Linked DNA regions of Homo sapiens: region 2 is linked to region 1. The links are contacts of gene promoters, found by promoter capture Hi-C in blood cells and fetal thymus (Javierre and others, 2016). All regions are on one chromosome and are shown on one strand. Each heading gives the region's core, a stretch centred on a gene start or on the middle of the fragment in contact. The rest is flanking DNA. Distances are from core to core; before and after follow the strand shown.

What was found. The method cuts DNA at HindIII sites, captures the fragments that hold promoters and counts their contacts. A CHiCAGO score of 5 or more calls a contact.
Region 2: a fragment that was not itself captured here is called in contact with the fragment with the promoter of NRCAM in region 1 in 1 of 17 cell types (naive B cells); the score reaches 5.1 in naive B cells.

What each region holds. Positions count from the first base shown.
Region 1 is chr7:108,454,914-108,458,982 of GRCh38, reverse strand. It overlaps NRCAM (neuronal cell adhesion molecule), which reads left to right and starts at 2,547. Exons shown (of 33, transcript NM_001037132.4): 1 at 2,547-2,740. The HindIII fragment of the contact is 7,436 bases long and covers 1-4,069 here.
Region 2 is chr7:108,380,745-108,384,456 of GRCh38, reverse strand. The region is part of intron 2 of NRCAM (neuronal cell adhesion molecule); the gene reads left to right. Among named protein-coding and RNA genes, the nearest start is that of NRCAM, 74 kb to the left of the region's middle. The HindIII fragment of the contact is 192 bases long and covers 1,494-1,685 here.

The DNA.
Region 1 (4,069 bases), core at 1,298-3,797:
TCTTATCAAATAATTACTGCTTAAACTAGAATTTGCTGAGCACCTATTATGTCCTAGATACTGTCCAGTGCTTTCTTACAATAACCTTATGTATTAAGTATTGTTACTCTACCTGTAAAGGTAAGGGAAACTATACCTGAGAAATCATCACTCACATAAAAAAAAAAGAGAGAGATTCTATTCATGTCCTTATTCTTTCAGCAACCCCCAATAGCCTAAGTAGTCTCCCAGGCATCAGGACTAACCTGGACTTCACCAGGACCAAATATCGTCTGCCTCAACCTGGCTTCATAGACCAGGACTGGAGCCTGAAGAGAAAGAACAATTCTAAGCAGAAGTTCAAGGAGCTGTTTAAAGAGGGTCTTTATGAGATTGTAACACAGGAAGACACAAGCAATGTTGCTTCAGTGCCCGGGGGATAAATTACTACACAGAACCAGGGCAAGAACTGAAGAGAGTAGGGTGTCATTTTCCCACTTGACAGGTTTGCCCTGTGGCATTCACTGGAAAATAATGTGGACCAGAAATCAATGTTTCTCAGTGGCCGGGGTGAGGGGCAATCTTGGAAAACCAGAGTACGAAGTAGAAGGACATGGGAAGGACAGGCAAGACAACCCCAGGATTCTCAGCAATTACTGCAGTGGGGAAGGAACGGAGGGGCCTCAAGTCCTTTACACAGGGCAAAATGATGGGGCAGTGAGAGTTGATTATGGTTATCTGTGGCTTCATTTGTATTGATGAGAAATGTGGTTACACAAAAATAAATAAGACAAATTGTCCTCAAAGAAGTGAAATTTTATGGAGTCAGACATGCAAACAGATCATTAAAAGGTGACCAGCACTATTATAATAGTCCTTACAGAGGAGGTAACAACCAAGTAAGGCTCTGAAGGATGAACAAGAGTTTGCCAAATGAAAAAGAGATGGACCAATATTCTAGCTAGGAGGAACCTCACATGCAGAGGCTTAGAGTTATGGAAAATGGAGAGATAAGTTAGGAGCAGATTGTAAAGAGGCACACCAGGAGATGTGGAATTTACTTTGTAGGCAATAGAGAACCAGCCCACCAGCCCAGACTTTCAAGTAGGGGGATCATGGAATCTTTTTTTTTGCGGGGGGGAAGGTATTTTAGAGGAAAATTTGGACAATTAGTTGAGAGGTGCAAGGTACCACCTGAATGGCAGTTGGGTAAGGACTAGAGTCAGAAGAACCACTGATGGGACTGTGGAAACAACTTGTGCAATGACCCAGCAGCCAGATATCATGCTGGTTCAGGAACCGAGGGAGGCTCTGTGAGGCCAGAGCACATTTGGCTGGAGAAGGAGGAGAGGATGGCAGTAGAAGGAGAAGGAAAAGAAGGCTGCTCACTTGCATGCAGATGCTGTGAGCTGACGGGGCAAGTTCAAATTGAAGTTAGAACAGACCACTGGGGTAGTCAAGACCTTGAAGGATGAACCTGTTTCTTTTTCATTCCTGAATCTTGCCCCAGCACCTTGGAGGCTGGGGGTGGAGGAGGTGGTGAGGTGGGGTGGGGTGGTGAGGAGCTCAGAAAATGTTTTCCTGAATTAGAGAACTGAAGGAATCAAGGCTCCGCTGAGCTCACTAAGCGCTGGAGCCTGCTGTAAGTGGTCAAGTCGGGTGATACCCAGCAGACAAGTAATTTGTGTGCAGACCGGAGTAGATTACGGAGGACCCAAGGGTCAGGCTAAGGATCCTGAACACCATCCACGATAGAGTGGAGACGTGCGCTTCGGAGCCTGAACTATGCAGCAAGCAGTGTGTTTACTCAAATACTATACAGTTGGAAAATCTTAATTCTCGATTTACATTGCCAAAAAAAAAAAAAAAAAATCTCCATAATACTCCCCCATTTGTAAATAAGCAAATCCGAACTAACCCTATTCCTTGGGACCAGAAGACCCAGTTTCTACCGCGGATAGATAGCATCCGCCTTATGCTAAAAGCTCTTTTTTCTGCGGTGGTGGGGGGCGGCGGGGAGTGTTTGGAAAGAACGGTTGCAAAAACAAAACAAAACCCCCAAAACCACTCACCCAATCTCAACCACCCCAACTGATGAATTTCGAAGAAAGTGCTTTTTAAAAAAGAAAAAACTAGAAGACCACAGACCTCCCACAGAAAGCTAAACCCATGAGAGTGGCATTCAAAAACTACCCATTTTCTGGAACATCTTTTGTAGCTAAATCCCAGCCATCCTAGCCCCGGAACACTCCCGCCCTCCGTCCCCGCACCCCCACCCCCGCCGCCACACGCGCTCGCAGGCTGACGGAGGTTGGCGGTGGGGCGGCCGCTCAGGTGAGGGGCCACCCAGTCCCTCGAGGCGCCGGCGGCTGGAGCCCATTCGCTGCCGTCGCAGCAGCAGGGCAAGAGGGGGTTGGCCAGGAGGGGAGGAGGCGGAGGACGCCCGCAGGGAGTGCGGGGGAGGGGGACGGGAGGACGCTAAGGAGAGCCGGGAGGGGCAAAAGCACGGCGCGGGGAGGGGGAGCGGAGAGGGCGGGAGCGGCGGGGGCGCGCGCCGGCGCGGGGCCAGCCTCGCTTCGCCAGGGTCGCTGGCGGACGCGCGCCGCAGTCCGAGCCTCAGACGCGCGGGCGCGGGGGACGGCGCAGGGGCCGCCTGGCTGGAGCAGCCAGAGGGGATAGCTTCGTCGAGAACGGAGGACACCGGCGGTCCAGGGTCCTGGGCAGTCGCGCCAGAGCTGAGCGGAGGGCGCGGCGCGAGAACGTAAGTAGCTCCTTGCGCGTCTGGCGGTGACACTGGGTCCTGCTCGGGGGTGACGGCTGGAGCGGAGGAGGACGCGCGAGGCTGCTGCGTTGTCACTTGGACACCGCCGCGGGGTTCAGCCGAGCGCTCACCGGGCTGGCAGCGCTGCAGGAGGGGCAAAGCAGATCTCCAACTCCCTTCTCCCCTGCAGGCCCCCGACACTCCCGCGGGCGCCGAGAGGGAGCAGGGGGACCTGCGCTTGGGTGAAGGCACAGCTGAAATCCAGCAGCGCCGGCACCCACCACCCCCTCCAGCCTGTGGCCAACTTCTGCTCCGCGCCCGCACCCCACGCTTTCCGGGAAGCCCTGCCCAGAGCTCTTGCTCGTGGGCAGTTGGGCATGGAGAGCCTGCGGGCCCGGCACGGCGGCTTCCCGGGCTTGGACACGGAGGCGCGGGGCGTCACGCCACAGTGCCGGCGGGGCGAGGAGCGCGGGGGCCGGGCCGGGAGCGCACGGGCGTGTGCCTGTTCGGGCCCCTGCGGACACGTCTGGGCGTGGGCTTTGTTCGGAAGTGCGTACACCTGTGCTGACCACGGAGTTCGGGGGCGAGGCCGACTTCGCTTCTCCAGTCGCTGCCTGGAGAGGGCTCGGGGAATCGAGGCGGAACGAGAGAGACACGGAGGACAGAGGGGTGGGGCGCTTGCGGGGGCTTTGTCGGCCTTACAGGTGCGGGTCCCGGGAGTCCCTGCGCCCCGCCCTGCCTCCGAGGGCTGGGACTTGTCGGGGCCGGCGCACCGGGCTGGGGGCTGCCTGGAAAGATTGCTTTCCCAGCCCAGGCTCTTAGCGGTGGGATCTGGCATCCGCTCCGCCCGGGATGCTGTGTTGAGCCAGGAGTGATTACCCGCCCTGGAGCATCCATCTCGCAGCGAGCGCCATCTGCGCCGAGCGCCGCCCCCGGCCCCCTCCACGCCGCGCGGGTGGGCGCTGCCGCATCCTGGTCCCAGGCGGTTGGCCAGCTCAGCTACTCCCGGCCCGCATCTGCTAGAGTGCGGAGGGGGACGGGGTGTCGCAGTAGGGTGAGCAAGGGAGTCGTCATTTCTCCCAAAGCGGTGTCCTCAGGGCCGCAAGCGCTGCTGGAGGGCTCCCCGGGCCCCGGGGCTGGCGAACAGGCCGCTTCCTTCCCCGGATCGCCTCCCCTCCCGCCCGCGCCCGCGGCCACATCTTCGTCCCCCGTACGCTGGCGGGTGGCCCCTGCGCCGCGGGCACCGAGGGAGGGCGCCGAGCGGTGGCGTTTCTTTCGCACCCCGCCTCTCTCCTTCCCTTTTCTTCGCATCAGGGGCTCCAGCCCTTG
Region 2 (3,712 bases), core at 340-2,839, 74 kb after region 1:
AAATACAACCTTCAAATTCATATGGAAATAGGAGCTTTTCTTTCCCCCAACCCATCTCCCATCTTGTGCCCTTCAACAATTCTTTATTTTTTTTCTACCAGTTCACCCCCAACCTGTTTTTTGTTTTTGGTTTTGTTTTTGTTTTTCTTTGGCTGGATCAAGGGTTCTCTCCTCTTTTTTAAATTTTTATTATTGGGTTTTTTTGACTTTTATTTTAGATTTGGGGGCACATGTGAAGGTTTGTTACATAGGTAAACACATGTCTTTGGGGTTTGTTGTACATATTATTTCATCACCCAGGTATTAAGCCCAGTACCCAATAGTTATCTTTTCTGCTTCTTCCTCCCACCCTCCCAGATCAAGTAGACCCCAGTGTCTGCTGTTCCCTTCTTTGTTTTCATAAGTTCTTATCATTTAGCTCCCACTTATAAGAGCTGGAGGCTATTATCCTTGGTGAACTAACTTAGGAACAGAAAATCAAATACCTCATGTTCTCATCAACCTGTTCTTAAACCAAATGCACCACTTCAAAGCCCTGAGTCTTAATGGTATGTTATCATGATGGTCATTTTTCAGAGTAGGAAGTTCAGTTACGCATCTCAGACTCCTTTGAGAGTCAGAAGAAAAAAACCAAGCACACACCCCCAACATAAAACCATGAAGAAATTCCAGTTTTTATTTCTTATATTTCCCCAGGTTCTTGGCTCAAGGAAGATGTATAATTGTCTTCAGCATAAACTGAAGTTAATGAAGTATGGGACTGTACTTTATTAAAAAGAAACATTTTAAAAGCTCTTGTTCTTAATTTTTATTCAAATTTCTCAATCTTCTTTGGCTAAGTAGCCAAGAGTTAGATCTATTCGCCATGAGCCAGATGACTGCCCTTGGATGTTCAAGATGGAACTCCGTTGAAGTCTGCAGGGGTTGTGTTCATTAGAATTCCCAGGGGTTGTGTGTTACCAAGCCCTTGTCATAAGTTATATCAAATTCCCTCATCCCTGAAATGGAAGTATCGTTCTGGCTGTCGTGCTGCCTTCTCCGTATCTTATTTGTTTTCACTTTAATGTTACAAGAAAAGACAGCTTTTGTCTTTATTTCTGGTTAGCAGTCCTCATGAATATGCATTAGCAGGTTCCCTTTCTAGCTACTGTTTTGTAATTTGTTATTTTTAAATGAAATCTGAAGTGAAAATAACTCCCAATTCTCACTTTAATATGTTTGGATTCTTAATCTTGATTTTGGAGGTCCTGAGCCAGACAGGAGTGACTTTAGAAGGCTGTTTGCCTAGGCAACACCAAGGGGTGTGTGTGTGTGTGTGAGAGCGTGTGTGTGTGTGTGGTGTGACTCAGTGGTTGAATAGATGGGACTACATTGGAACACACTTCCAGAGCCTCTGCAGGACACTGTGGTGGGCATTACAGCCACTGTGTCATTTCATTTTCACAACAGCACTGTGAGGCAAGTATAATTATATCCCTTTGGGAACTGAAGCTTAGGGAAAGTTAGTGATTTCCTCCAATTCACAAACTAGTAAATGAAAGAAGGGGAGCAGGTGATGAGAGAGGTCATTGAAATGTGAGTGTTCCACAGTGCTTTTCTGGTTGTTTTCCTAGAAATTGATAGTGGGTAATTTGGGGGTAATTACTTTACAGAGTCAATATGGGGTGTTTTTGGTATATTAAGCTTTTAAGAAAAGTGATACTAAACTTGGGCTGCTCTGAGCAGAGCCTGCTGTTCCTGTCCTTGCTTAATCTGGAGACTCAGTGCTAGTACTTAGATGCCAGGGTACCTCTACAGATTGCCCTGTTAGTTTAGGGTTTTCTTTTTTCTTTCTTCTTTCCTTTTTTAGAGATGGAGTCTCATTCTGTTGCCTAGGCTGGAGTGCAATGCTGCAGTCATAGCTCACTGCAGCCTCGAACTCCTGGGCTTAAGCAATCCCCCTGCCTCAGCCTTCCAAGTAGCTGGGACTACAGGTGCATGCCACTGTACCTGGCTAATTAAAAAAAATTAATTTAATTAAAAAAATAGAGATGGGGTCTCACTTTGTTCCCCAGGCTGGTCTCAAACTCCTGAACTCAAGTGATCCTCCTGCGTCAGCCTCCCAAAGTGCTGGGATTAGAGGCATGAACCACCGCGCCCAGCCTTGTTAGTGTTTCCTTGACTGGATAATGCTACCAAACTCTACCTTTACCTGTTTCTAAAGAGTTTTTTTCTACATTCAAAAAAAAAAAAAATCTCTGTTCCTCTGGAAAGCAAAATCTCCCTCCTCCGGAAAGCAAAACTGATGCAGATCTTCTGTGACTCTGTGGGTTTAGCACCACACAATTTGAAGTTACCATGCACCCCTTCACAGCCTCAGATGCTTTCCTGAATGTCAGCAGGAGCCTCACACTCCCATTTAAGGACTGTTTGTCTAAACTTGCTAGTCAGGCAACTAATCTCTGCACTGTGAAGTCTATTTATTGATTGTTGCATAACAGTCCATCTGTATCTCTCCTTATTTAATGGGGTGGCTATAGACAGAGGAGCCCAGCATACCTGTCTGCCCTAGATAGGATGAGATTACCCTAAAGCCATGTAAAAAATGGTCAAGGCAGGCCAGGCGCAGTGACTCACGGCTGTAATCCCAGCACTATTGGAGGCTGAGGCAGGCGGATCACCTGAGGTCAGGAGTTTGAGACCAGCCTGGCCAACATGGTGAAACCCCGTCTCTATTAAAAATACAAAAAATTAGCCGGGCATGGTGGTACATGCCTGTAATCTCAGCTACTTGGGAGCCTGAGGCAGGAGAATCTCTTGAACCTGGGAGGCGGAGGTTGAAGTGAGCCGAAATCGCACCATTGCAGTCTAGCCTGGGCAACAAGAGTGAAACTCTGTCTCAAAAAAAAAAAAAAAGAAAAAAAAAAATGGTCAAAGCCAATGTTAAGACCAGCTCAAAGCAACTCTTTACTAGCCCTTAACATTTTCTATTGAAATTTGAAACGCTATTTGCCCTTGGATACACAGTGAAGGCCCTTTTTGGATCACAGCAATACTCAAAATTGTCTTTTATCTCCCAGGCAAGATATAATTAGACTATGCAGTTTACCATGTGATTTAGGATATGCAATTAAATAAAAAAGCTGTGGGCAAGAGTATTTTAAAATAGTATTATTTTCTTCCCTTGAGTTTAAAAGTAATACATGTTCACTGCAGACAATTGGGAAAAATGAAGAAAAATGGGAAGACAGTAAAAGTAACACAGGCAAATGATTATTAACTTTTTGATGTTATTTTTCATTACAATGACACATATATAGCTACATACGTATATTTAATCTTCTTGCAAAATAGTTTTAATGGCATTAGTCCTTAGGGTATTAGTGCCAAGCATTTTTCTCCTTTTCAGTTCTTTGTATATTCTTTTATATATTTTTTAAAGATAGGGTCTCTCTGTGTTGCCCAGACAGGACTCAAACACCTGAGCTCAAGCATTCCTTCTGCCTTTGCCTCCTGAGAACTTGGGACTACAGGCATGAGCCACCATGGCTGACTTCTTTTTATTATGAAATGGGATATTACATACATACAAAAGAGAGGGAGAGTAACCCAGTACTCAGGAGCATTTATTAGAGAGATAGGTGGCCTAGATTCTGGTCTTAGAACTACTATTTGCTAGCCTGGAACTTTGGGCAGGAAGATCACTTGAGCCCAGGAAGCTGAGGCTGCAGTG